Linked DNA regions of Homo sapiens: region 1 is linked to region 2. Evidence: promoter capture Hi-C in human tissues and cell types (Jung and others, 2019). All regions are on one chromosome and are shown on one strand. Each heading gives the region's core, a stretch centred on a gene start or on the middle of the fragment in contact. The rest is flanking DNA. Distances are from core to core; before and after follow the strand shown. Region 1 overlaps GID4 (GID complex subunit 4 homolog). Region 2 holds the start of MYO15A (myosin XVA).

The links. The method cuts DNA at HindIII sites, captures the fragments that hold promoters and counts their contacts. A contact is called where the count stands out against the background at its distance.
Region 1: a contact is called between a fragment that was not itself captured here and the fragment with the promoter of MYO15A in region 2, in 1 of the 25 tissues and cell types used here (thymus).

Annotation. Positions count from the first base shown.
Region 1 is chr17:18,048,768-18,055,076 of GRCh38, forward strand. It overlaps GID4 (GID complex subunit 4 homolog), which reads left to right. Exons shown (of 6, transcript NM_024052.5): 3 at 5,360-5,467. Among named protein-coding and RNA genes, the nearest start is that of GID4, 13 kb to the left of the region's middle. The HindIII fragment of the contact is 5,660 bases long and covers 480-6,139 here.
Region 2 is chr17:18,106,299-18,112,665 of GRCh38, forward strand. MYO15A (myosin XVA) reads left to right here and starts at 2,458. Exons shown (of 66, transcript NM_016239.4): 1 at 2,458-2,526. DRG2 (developmentally regulated GTP binding protein 2) reads left to right here. Exons shown (of 13, transcript NM_001388.5): 12 at 135-188; 13 at 856-1,671. The coding sequence ends at 942. It overlaps LOC105371566 (a long non-coding RNA gene), which reads right to left. Exons shown (of 3, transcript NR_164159.1): 2 at 4,554-4,780; 3 at 1,393-2,337. RefSeq lists an enhancer at 754-1,401. The HindIII fragment of the contact is 16,274 bases long and covers 1-6,367 here.

The sequences.
Region 1 (6,309 bases), core at 2,060-4,559, 57 kb before region 2:
GAGTAGCTGGAATTACAGGCATGTGCCACCACACCTGGCTAATTTTTATATTTTTAGTAGAAATGGGGTTTTACCATGTTGGCCAGGCTGGTCTTGAACTCCTGACCTCAGATGAACCACCCACCTTGGCCTCCCAAAGTGCTGGGACTACAAGCATGAGCCACCGTGCCTGGCAAAAATATCAAATTTTTAATTTATTTTAATTAAACTATAATTTGGGTTTTAGTCATAGTAGTTGCCTTCCTCACGTATACAGTATGGAAAAGTATCTACTAAAATGGAGATAGGCCAGGCACAGTGGCTCATGCCTGTAATCCCAGCACTTTGGGAGGCTGAGGCAGCTGGATCGCCTGAGGTCAGGAGTTTGAGACCAGCTTGGACAACATGGTGAAACCCCATCTCTACTAAAAATACAAAAATTAGCTGGACATGGTGGCGGGCACCTGTAATCCCAGCTACTCAGGAGGCTGAGGCAAGAGAATCGCTTGAACCCAGGAGGCAGAGTTTGTGGTGAGTTCAGATCATGCCACTGGACTCCAACCTCGGCAACAGAGTGAGACTTCGTGTCAAAAAAAAAAAAAAAAGGAGATAAGTGTCAAAAAAAAAAAAAAGGAGCTAAATGGCCTCTTAGCTACCTCACATTCACAAACAAGCACAGCTTTTTTGTTTGTTTGTTTTAATTTTTATTTTAGGCTTGGGTGTACATGCGCAGGTTTGATCTATAGATAAACTTATGTCACGGTTTACCTATGTAACTGTTGTGGAGATTATTTTGTCACCCAGGTATTAAGCCTAGTACTGAATAGTTATTTCTTCTGCTCCTCTCCCTTCTCCTACCCTCTACCCTCAAGTAGGCCCCATTGTCTGTTCTTCCCTTCTTTTTTTTTTTGAGATGAAGTCTCGCTCTGTTGCCCAGGCTTGAGTGCAGTGGTGCAATATCTGCTCACTGCAACCTCTGCCTCCCAGGTTCAAGCAGTTCTCCTGCTCAGCTTCCCAGGTAGCATGTACCACCACACCAGGCTAAATTTTTTTTTGTACTTTTGGTAGAGATGGGGTTTCACCATGTTGGCTAGGCTGGTCTTGAACTCTTGACCTCAGGTGATTTGCCTGCCTCAGCCTCCCAAAGTGCTGGGATTACAGGCTTGAGCCTATTGTTTCCTTCTTTGAGCCCATGAGTTCTCATCATTTAGCTCCTACTTATAAGGGCAGTATTTGGTTTTCTGTTCCTGCATTAGTTTGCTAAGGATAACGGCCTCTAGCTCTACCCGTGTTCACGCAAAAGACATGATCTCATTTCTTTTTATGGCTTCATAGTATTCCTTGGTGTATATATACCACGTTTTCTTTATCCAATCTGTCATTGATGGGCATTTAGGTTGACCCACTTTTTACTATTGTGAATAGTGCTACAGTGAACATTTGCATGCATGTATCTTTATAGTAGAATGATTTATACTCCTCTGGGTGTATACCCAATAATGGGATTGCTGGGTCGAATGATAGTTCTGTTTTTAACTCTTTGAGGAATTGCCACATTGCAAAACGGAGCTTTAAAGTTTGTTTTCATGCCTTCTGGAAGTGAAATTCTAGAAATGTAAAGAATAAATATGAAATAACATTCTTTTTGCACTTTTGAGCCATCCGTCAGTCAAGAGAGGCGACCTTTCCGGGGAACCCAGCAGCTTTCAGGGGTTACCTGGGAGCCCAGCCTTTGGGGGCCATGGGCAGGCCCCCCACTTACTCATTACTTGGGTTTGGAAGGGTTGGAAGCTCCAGCTGAAGTTGTGCTAGACTTGTGCTTAACTAGGGAGACAGGTCACACCTACCAAAACTCACAAAAACAAAAGTGCCAGTTTTTGTCAGAGAATGAGATTCCTGTATGTTCCAGAAGTTCCTGTTGACTTATTGGCCAATTGAATGTTAATCCTCCAGAAGACAGGTCTACATGGAAAGTCGTGGTACCTATCACCACACAGTTTTGGGTGAGCCTGGAATCAGTGGGAGGATTAGTTGGGGGACTTAAATGTCTGACAACAGCCAGACCCACCAAGGGATGCCCACTCCTGCTTTTGCTGCCTCTGTTATTCATTTCTCGATATCCTTTCTTCTGACATGGTTTTTCGTCCGCTCTATAAATTACCCCTCATTGGGCTGTAATAAAGTGCTTGAATTTCCTGTTCCTGCTCTGAGAATATTTTATCTTTTCAGTGACTTCTGTACACACTGAATCTCATTTATTAGGTATTTATTTTATTTAATTCTCAAAGTTTGAGGGTACCCTGTAGTTACCCTGATATACTGCCTAAAGTATGTTTACAAAGAAGTCAATGCAGAATTATTCATTAAGAAAACTAGTGATTTAAACCATAAGTGTTTTAATCATATTAGGACCTCCTCCCCACCCCTCCCTTTTTTAAAAATAGAGACCGGGTCTTACTATGTTGCCCAAGCTGATCTTGATCTCCTAGGCTCAAGTGATCCTCCTGTCTTGGCCCCCTAGAGTGCTGGCATTACAGGTGTGAGCCACCAGGCTTGGCCTTGTATTAAAACCTCTTTATCATTTCATCCTATCCCTTTCAAGGAAGTTCAGAAAAAAGATTAAAGCTTGAAACTCGGAAAAATAATATAAACAGTTTGTAGTTGGCTGATGCCTGTAATCCCAGCACTTTGGGAGGCCGAGGCAGGTGGATCACGAGGTTAGGAGTTCAAGACCAGCCTGGCCAAGATGGTGAAACCCGTCTCTACTGAAAATACAAAAATTAGCCACACGTGGTGGTGGATACCTGTAATCCCAGCTACTCGGGAGGCTGAGACAGAGAATTGCTTGAACCCGGGAGGCGGAGGTTGCAGTGAGCCAAGGTTGTACCACTGCACACCAGCCTGGGCGACAGAGCGAGACTCCATCTCAAAAAAAAAAAAAATAGCTTCTAGTTTAAAATCTCAAATGCAGGTGCTGATTTATTGAGAACTTTTTTCCTTAGTAGTCTTTCCTAGAACAGATTATAATTAAAAGTTAGTTTATACCGGCTGGGTGCGGTGGCTCACGCCTGTAATCCCAGCACTTTGGGAGGCCGAGGCGGGTGGATCATGAGGTCAGGAGATCAAGACCGTCCTGGCTAACACCATGAAACCCTGTCTCTACTAAAAATACAAAAAATTAGACAGGCGTGGTGGCATGCATCTGTAATCCCAGCTACTTGGGAGGCTGAGGCAGGAGAATCACCTGAACCCGGGAGGCAGAGGTTGCAGTGAGCCGAGATCGTGCCACTGCATTCCGGTCTGGGCGACAGAGCAAGACTCTGTCCCTCCCCCCAAAAAAAAAAAAAAAAGTTAGCTTATACCTTAAAAATTAGGTTTACATTTAGGAAAATTTCTCCTCTCTCATTTTTTCAGTCTATGTATTTAAATATTTATGTGAAGAATCCAGCAACAGTGTTAGGATAGGGGGGTTGTGGGTTTGGGGCAGTATTAGATTTATCATATTTTAAGTTCACTGTTAAGGAAACAGATCCCCTCCATGGTGTCATCCTAAAGCAGGCCTCCTGAGCCACCTGCAGCGGTGGTGACGTTCTGTTTCCTGGGAGCCTCTGCACCAGTGGCTTTTACTGTGGCAGCCTCTCTCAGGAAGGTCCTACACTACATGCAGGCCAGGTTGGTAGATGTGGCAAAGCCATCAGAATGAGGTTTTTGATGCAGAATAAGAGGGGCTTACATCTGATCTGAAGGAAAAACGTGGGCCTTCTGCAGTCCTTGATGTTAGGACTGTAATCTGTGGTTTTCCAGGCCAGTGACTCTCATAACCATGCTCCTGGCAGACACCAGGGGCTTGGCAAGGTAGCCTGAGAGGTGGGTGCTTGGTTGGTTTCTACAAATGCAGAGAAATGTAGACTTTTTACGGTGTTAACTTTTTGTCTTATTAATCTTTTTTAAAATCATTGGTGCCTACTTATTAACACATGAACAAAGAGCAATTAACAAAGCACCCAAGCCAGCACATGGCTTCTTGCTTACGTTTTCCACGGTGTGGTTTTTACATTCAGACATGATTTACATATGTTTTTCCTCATATAAATTGTTTTTAGTTCATATGTTTTTCCTCATATAAGTTGTTCTTAGTTCATGTGACAGAATTAAACGTATCCCTATGTATCAAGGTATTCTAAGACTACCTTCAGGGACCATTTGTATAGTTCATTACTAGAAGTTTCTCTGAACATGTAGAACACTGAAAAAAGTATTTACTTTTTTTTTTTTTTTTTTTTTTTGAGACAGAGTTTCACTCTTATTGCCCAGGCTGGAGTGCAATGGCGTGATCTCGGCTTACTGCAAACTCCGCCTCCAGGTTCAAGCAATCTCCTGCCTCAGCCTCCCGAGTAGGTGGGATTACAGGCATGCGCCACCACGCCCGGCTAATTTTGTATTTTTAGTAGAGATGAGGTTTCTCCATGTTGGTCAGGTTGGTCTTGAACTCCTGACCTCAGGTGATCCTCCCACCTCGGCCTCCCAAAGTGCTGGGATTACAGGCGTGAGCCACCATGCCTGGCCAAAATAAAAGGTATTTTAGGCTGGGTGCGGTGGCTCACACCTGTAATCCTCGCACTTTGGGAGGCCAAGGCGGGTGGATCACCTGAGGTCAGGAGTTCGAGACCAGCCTGGCCAACATGGCGAAACCCCGTCTCTACTAAAAATACAAACATTAGGTGGGCGTGGTGGCAGCCAACTGTAATCCCAACTACTCGGGAGGCTGAGGTAGGAGAATCACATAAACCCAGGGTGTGGGAGGAGGTTGCAGTGAACCGAAATTGTGCCATTGCACTCCAGCCTGGGCGACAGAGCAAGACTCTGTCTCAGGAAAAATAAAAAAGTATTCTACCCCAGAATCCACCCTGGAACCTTGGAGAATTGGTGTAAAAGGGACAAATGACTGAGCCAGTTGGAGAACCAGTGGCTTGAGGGAGCCTTAGTGGTAGACACAGTGATTTTGGAGCCTCTTTGGGTCTAACCTTGGAAAGTAAAATCTACCAAGTTATGATCTGCTTTGTATGCTAGAATATTAAAAATTTATTTGTGGAAACATCCAAATTATTTTCTAAGAGACTAGCATGTAACAATTGAAGTCAAAGAAGGGCTGTCTGCTGCTGGCAAAATCCAGGAAACCCTTCATTCTCTGGGTGATTTAGATTCAGGTCCATTGCCACAGCCTGTTGGCAAACTGGCTGCGATCTAACTCTGGTTTGGATTGTCAGGTAGCAGTGTCTAGGTACTGGAAAGAAGTTAAAGCAAAGTTTATTTTTCCTTTGTACAAAGGTTAAAAACTCTCACTCAACATCTTATTTTGATATTTGGGTTTTTACCATAGGAGTATCCAACCCTTACAACCTTCTTCGAAGGAGAAATAATCAGCAAAAAACACCCTTTCTTAACTCGCAAGTGGGATGCAGATGAAGATGTTGATCGGAAACACTGGGTGAGTAAATCTGATCTGTGCTGGGTCATCTAGGGGCTGCTAGAGAATTGAAGAAATGCTGGGAGCCAGAGACCTTGTCCCTTATTGAGGATTACTGGGGCTTTGCAACCAAGTAAAAGGTTGCACTGCACACAGACCTCAGTTGTTCCATCTTCCTTATGAGGACAGTTTAAATACGATCTGACCTGCTGCTTAAATAGCAAATGGTTGTCTGATGATAGCAACCCCAGAGTTCCAGCCAGAACTCTGCTCAGCTATCAGAATCTTAACAGTGTCCCCCCATCCTTCCCACCTGTTTGTCCATCTTCTGTCCACTGTTCCTTTCAAATCACCTCTGCTTGGGGAAAACCCTGTGAAACATGCAATGATGACCTCCGGCTTCGGGGCTGGCATGAGATGGAGATGATGTTGTGGGAATCTGCCTGCCCACTGGCTTATCAGGGCAGAGCCACATCATTTCTTTTTATCCTGGCTGCTGACAGACAAGTATAGTCTTGTCTTAAGTACACCACTATAAATCCTGCTGCCCCCCTTTTTAACTGTCAAGTGTAGAGCATTCTCACTCAGCAGTAGTGAATGCTTCAAGACAGTTAGTGTCCTGGGATCTTTTCATTTGTTGTCATATAAGTACCATGTCTTCAAAAATCAGTGTCTCGGCTGGGCGCGTTGGCTTGCGCCTGTAATCCCAGCACTTTGGGAGGCCGAGGCGGGCGGATCACCAGGTCAGGAGATTGAGACCATCCTGGCTAACACGGTGAAACCTCGTCTCTACCAAAAATACAAAAAATTAGCTGGGCGTGGTGGTGGGCACCCGTAGTCCCAGCTACTCTGGAGGCTGAGGC
Region 2 (6,367 bases), core at 1,208-3,707:
CCCAGACTGTGTGGGCACCTGCCGCGGGAACTCCTGCCTCTTGGCCTGTGTCCTGAGCTTTGGGTGTGCAGCCAAGCTTGGGATGGGGTTAGGTGAAGCCTCACCTCTCTACCTGACTCTCTCCTGTCCTCCAGTGCCACCGCATCCACCGGTCACTCGCCAGCCAGTTCAAGTACGCCCTGGTGTGGGTGAGTCTCTGGGTGGAAAGCAACCAGGGGGGTAGACCCAGGACAGCCCCTGGGTTAGGCATGAAGCAAGGCATTCACACTCTCTGCGTGGTGTTCCTGTCCTTCCTGTGGGGATTGGCATGTCTGTGTGTCTGTCCTCCATAGAATGTACATGCCAACCCAGGGTAGACATGGGCCTTCCCCACCCTTTTTTTTTTCTGGTTTTTTTTTTTTTTTTTTTTTGAGACAGGGTCTGGCTCTGTCTCCCACGCTGGAGTGCAGTGGCACGATCATGGCCCAGTGCAGCCTCGACATCTGTGCAAAAGCGATCCTCCCACCTCAGCATCACAAGTAGCTGGGACTACAGGCACACACCACCATGCCTGGCTAATTTTTCATGGAGACAAGGTTTCGCTATCTGGCCCAGGCTGTCTCAAACACCTGAGCTCAAGTGATCCTCCCACCTTGACCTCCAGAAGTGCTGGGATTACAGGCATTAGCCACTGTGCCTGGCCCTCCCCAACCTTTGAGATCAGGGATGGTCAGACAACTGCGGACATCCTGCTGCCTGAGGCCCCCACCTTATGCCATGGCATTTACCCTTCAGGACACACACGCCCAGGGATATCTTCCTTGACCTTGGCCAGTCCAGGCTGAGGTGACCCCTCTGCCCCCATTCCTCACCCAGGGCACCAGCACCAAGTACAGTCCGCAGCGGGTGGGCCTGACCCACACCATGGAGCATGAGGACGTCATCCAGATCGTGAAGAAGTAACGGCGCCTGCCGGGCCTCCCGCCCACCTGCCTCGTCTCCCTGGGGAGGTGGTCCCACTGGGACACACAAACACCCAAACAGAAAAATACAAATACACGTACCCCAGGAAGGGGTCCCTCAAGTCTCTGCTATTTACAGAAGTTTCTTCAGTAGGCAGACGAAGAGTGTGTTGGGGCAAAGGGGCTCGGTTGGAGGCATTTCCCATAAGACTGAGCCCTCTCATGGGGGTTTTGAGTTTGTAGTGCTGAGCCTGCATCTGTGCCTCCCAGCCCCCTGCACTGAGGGAGCAAGTTGCCCACATGCCCGCCAGCCAGGGCCTAAAGCAGATGGCATGCTCAGTGCCAGGCTGGTAGCTGGGCCTGTTTGGGTCCCTGGAGGCTGTGGCTGCTGTCATGGCACCTCACTCCCTCAGCTCTTGCCAGCTTCTCTGACACTTGGGTTGGGGGCCCTTCCAGGAGGAAACCCCCTTGGGTGCCCCACACAGGGCTCTCCATGATGGGAACCAGTGGTTAGTGGCTTCAAAGGCCCAGCTGACACCCTCCACAGCCTAAGGGGTGTCCTAAAGTGCCTCCCCCTGTATTCCCCCTCCCAGGGCAGCCCCTGCCCAGCACAAAACCCCAGGACCCTGGCTCTGCACGCCTGGGGCAGGGACTTTTGAGTTTAGGATCTGTATTTTCTAAGTCCCCAGTTCTCCTGGCTCTCCTTTCTGAAATAAAGGATTGAAAACGGTTCCTGTTCAGACTGAGAACACTTTGTAAACTTGCTGAACAGTAGCCAGGTTGAGTCAGGTGGGCACAGGTCAGACATTGGGCCTGGGGGTCGGAGAGGGTGCAGCCTGGGCCCCAAGGCAGACCCAGGCCTTGTGTGGCAAGGAGACTGCAGGGTTCCTCACCCAGGCACAGGCAGGCTCTGCCCAGGGGGTTGGTGTTCGGGGGTGTCAGGCCCAGACTGGCCCCTCCGGAGGGGCCTGGCTGCCAAGGTGGGCAGCATCCCAGGAGGCCCTTGTGACCATCTGGGCTGGCAGGGAGGCTCTGTGAGAACAAGGTGGCGGGTCATTTCCTGTTGCCTCAGAAGTCAGGAGTAGAGGGGCTGGCAGGGGCTCGATGAGTGCCTACCGTGTGCCAGGGACTGTGCCAGGCCCCCCACAGTGTTCTGCTGTCCCCCAGAAGCTGGTGTAGGCTGCACAGTTTGTGAGTGCAGACCCCGGATTTAAGACCTCTGAGCAGCGGGGAAGGCTTCCTGGAGGAGGTATGCCTTTTGAGATGGATGCAGCAGGTTCTGTGAGGCTGCCAGGAGGGGTAGAGTTCCCGGGGGCCTCGGGCCCCGCTGGAGTGTGGAGCAGGCCCATGCTCAGCTCTCCAGGCTGTTCGTGGCTCCCCTGTCAGCTGCTCACTCCTTTCCAGAGACAAAACAGGAATAATAGACATCATTAAATATACATAGGGCCCCAGGCGGTCGGCGTGGTGGGCTGGGCCTCCCTTCCCCATAACACTGAGCTGCTCTGCTGGGCCAACCGTGCTCCTGGGCCAGCCAGAGGACCCCCATGAGGCGGCATGCAGGCGGGGAGCAGGCCACAGAACGCAGGTAAGGAGACCTTAGCCTAGAGTCCTTGGGGTCTGTCACTGGCCACCCTCGCATCCCAGGCTGCAGGGGTGATAAGGGAAGGGGCAGCAGCAGAGCTGGGGCCTCGCCCCTAACTCATCTTGAGGCCCTTCTCTGCCTCACTTTGTTCATCTGTGAGGGGTGTGATGCCCATGCAGTCCCCTCCTGGCGATGGTGGGATACCAAGACAGGCAGGGCCTCTGTGGCTTACCTCGGCCCCTCTCCTGACTGTCCTGATGCCTGGCCATGAGGCCCTAAGTGAGGGTTTCTGCCTGGCTGGTGGCCATTCCCACTTCCACTTTACAGGTAGGGGCTCTGGGCCCAGGGTGAGGTAGGGAAGGCCTTGAGTTCACAGGGTGTCAGGGTGAGTCCAGACCTTGGATTAGATCCAGACCTGTTTTGTCCCCAAGGCTGGCTGGCAAAGGGTGGGAAATGAGGCCAGAGGCTGGGGGTCCTCAGGCAGTGAGGGCTCAGGTGAGAGGCTCCAGCCACTGGGCCACAAGTTCCTCACCGTGGATGGGCTTGTTCCTGGGCTAGATCTGTGTGCGCGTGGATCAGGGCAGGCACTGCGGCTCTGTTATGTCCTGGGCTTTCTGGATCTGTGGTCAGGATGGTTGCGCAGTCTACATTTGCTTGTGAGAGAGCGAGCAAGGGATCCTGCAGCTGCGTATGCCCAGGTCAGTGTGAAGTGGCAGCTTGCGGTGCCTTTAGGGCTGGGGAAGCTCCCTAAGACCCCCCAAAGGTCTCTGACCCTCCCATCCCCGCACCTGGGTAAGCTCCAGGCTTGGGCCTCACCCTGTCAGCCACCTTGTTCTCATCACCCTCCCTGATGATCACAGGCAGGGGTCTGCACCCTCACTCAGGCCCATGCCCAGGCAGCAGAGTTGCATTCATCTCCCAGCTGGCATCCCTGCAGCCTCCCGGGGGTAGTATGGCCTGCAGCTTTAGAAGACTCAGGTACATAGGAGCCAAAGACATGAATATTCATCTATCTGTCCCACACGTGTGCGTTCACTCATTCTCCGTCTTTCTTCCTCTCCAGCTTAGATTCCACAGTTTCTCATTTCGGAACCCTCCTTTGGCAAGAAAGCCGAGTCGAGACCCTCTCCTTCCCACTCTGTCCCTCTCCTAGACAGCTCACCTGACCTCCAGCTTCCATCTCGCCAGACCTGGGTCCGAGCAGCCTTTTTGACTCTCCACTGCACTGTCCTGTAGCCATCCCAAGCCCACCGTGTCCCAGACCAAACATGGCGTTCCCATACCCCCGGCCTCACCTCAGAGACACTCCCCGCACCCCCCAGCTGCACCAAGCCAACCCCAAGACTACTTGTCTCCACCCTCATCCCAGCCCCATCTAGCCTCTCACCAGGGCCAGCCTGTTTCACCTCATCCTGAATGTGTCCGCTGTACACCATCACAGCATGCTCCCAGCTGTGTCATTGTCCCCTCTCCATTCTTTTCCACATGGCAGCCCGAGCTTCTTTTTATAATATTTTCTAAGAAGCCATGTGAGGCAGTGGTTGAGACTGTGGACACTCTGAAGCCAGACTGCCCAGGCTTAACTCCACCTTCAAGCTGTGTCACTCACATAACCTCTCTGGGCCCATGTCCTCATCTGTAAAGTGGGAAGAGTAACCACACCGACTTCAGGAGGTTGTAGTGAGAGTTGAGGTCTGTGTGGCCTGGCCGTTCTGAGCACAGGTCTTGCAGTCAGGGACACAGGCCCCATGGCTTCCTCACTGTGGGCTCTCGGCTGAGGGATCTAACCTCTCTAAGATCAAGCCCTTCATCTATGTGAGAATCTAGTGAGATATTCCAGAAAAGCATTTAGTACCAAGCCTGGCACATAGTAAACATCTGGAAATGCGAAACAGTGACCAAAGTCCCATCCCTTTCACGGCCATTGGGCTAGTCCCTGCCTGCCACCCTGGCCACCTCTCATTTCACATGCCCTCAATCACTCTGCTCCAGCCATAGGACTGTCCTTGAAGCCCCTCTTACCACCTGACCTTTGCACATGCTGTTCCACTTGCCAGGAATACTGTTCCTTCTTCCATGTTATAAGCTCCCTCTTATCCTTCAGATCTTGGCTCAGGGTTGCGTTGTCAGCAGAATCTTCCTGGACCTCCAGTGCAGTGTTTGGGCATCTGTGGGTCATGCCCTGACCTTCACAGCTCTTCTTGTTGATGTGACTCTGCTTAAAGTCTGCATCCAGGATGGGCACAGTGGATCATACCTGTAAACCCAACACTTTGGGAGGCTGAGGCAGGAATATTGCCCGGGGGCAAGGAGTTCAAGACCATCCTGGGCAACATAGTGGGACCCTGTCTCTACAAAAAAACATTAGCCAGGTGTGGTAGCCCACCTCTGTAGTCTCAGCTGCTTGGGCAGCTGAGGTGGGAGGATTGCTTGAGCCTGGGAGCTTGAGGCTGCAGTGAGCTGTGATTATGTTACTGCACTCCAGCCTGAGTGATGGAACCAGAGCCTGTCTCAAAAGAGAAAAAAAAAAAAAAAAAAAAAAAAACAAAGTCTGTGTCCCCTACAACACAGGGAGCTCCATGAGAGCAGAGATCATGTCTGGTTCCACTTAACTCTGCGAACCCCAAGTGCCCTGCACAGTGCTTGGCACATAATAGATGCACAACTAATGCACAAGTAATATTTAAGGAATGAATGAATGAGAGACTTGCTCCCTGACACCCGCTCTGTGCCTGCACAGAGGATGGGGACCCTGAGAGGAAGGCAGGACCTGGAACCTACCAGAGAAGGGGCAGCCTCAGCTGACTACTATCCTGAGGTCAAGCCTGGGACCCAGAGACCAGGAGGGATCAGGTGGGCAGGACTTGCTGCCAGCAGTCACCCAGACCTCCTCACTCAGAGCAGACAGGCAGCAGCCTGTAGCAATGACGTTGGCAGTCATAACAACAGCTGCTTGCCCAGGCCAGCCACTGTGCCCAGCTCTCCGCTATCTCATGTAATGCCCAGGTCAGCCCTGGTAAGGGAGGCATCTACACTCACAGATGAGGAGACTCCAACGCTGAGGCTGCATGACTTGCTATGGGTCAGATCCAGGAGAGGAATGAGACCTGACCCAGAGCTCTGAGCCACTGGGCTCCACGTCCCCTGGGCTAGAGCTGGGCTTGCCTCTCTGAGAGGCAGGTTCTTCATCTGGACAATGGGGCTTTGCAGTGGAAAGATGCCTGCCTGAGGCTTTGAGGCAGGACTTGGGCAAGCCCGCTAGAGAATGGTGGCCTCTCAGCCTTTCTTCTGGACAGACAGACAAGGCTCCCCTACTTGGGGCAGACAGAAGGTATGGCTCTGGGAGGTGCTCTTGGGCCTGAAGGGCCAGCCCTGCCCTGCTTCTCCCCAGCAAGTCTCTGACCTCTCTCTGCTTCACTTTCAACAAATGTAACAAATGTTACATGACACTGGGGTGGGGGTGGGGTTGGACCTGTGACATCTCAGGTCCCTGACATTCTTCCTGAGAGCCCCTCTAAAGTGGTGTTTCCACTCAGTCTCCAATCCCTTTTTTTTTCCATTTTCACATATACACTTTTTTGGGGGGTCGTGGGGGACAGGGTCTCGCACCGTCACACAGGCTGGATTGCAGTGGTGCAATCTTGGCTCACTGCAACCTCCACATCCTGAGTTCAAGTGATTCTTCTGCCTCAGCCACCACACTGTGCATATCTGTAGCTGGGATTACAGGTGTGCACCACCATGTTCGGCTGATTTTTGTATTTTTAGTAGAGACAGGGTTTTGCCATATTGTCTGGGCTGGTCTTGAACTCCTAGCTTCGAGTGATCCACCTGCCTCGGCCTC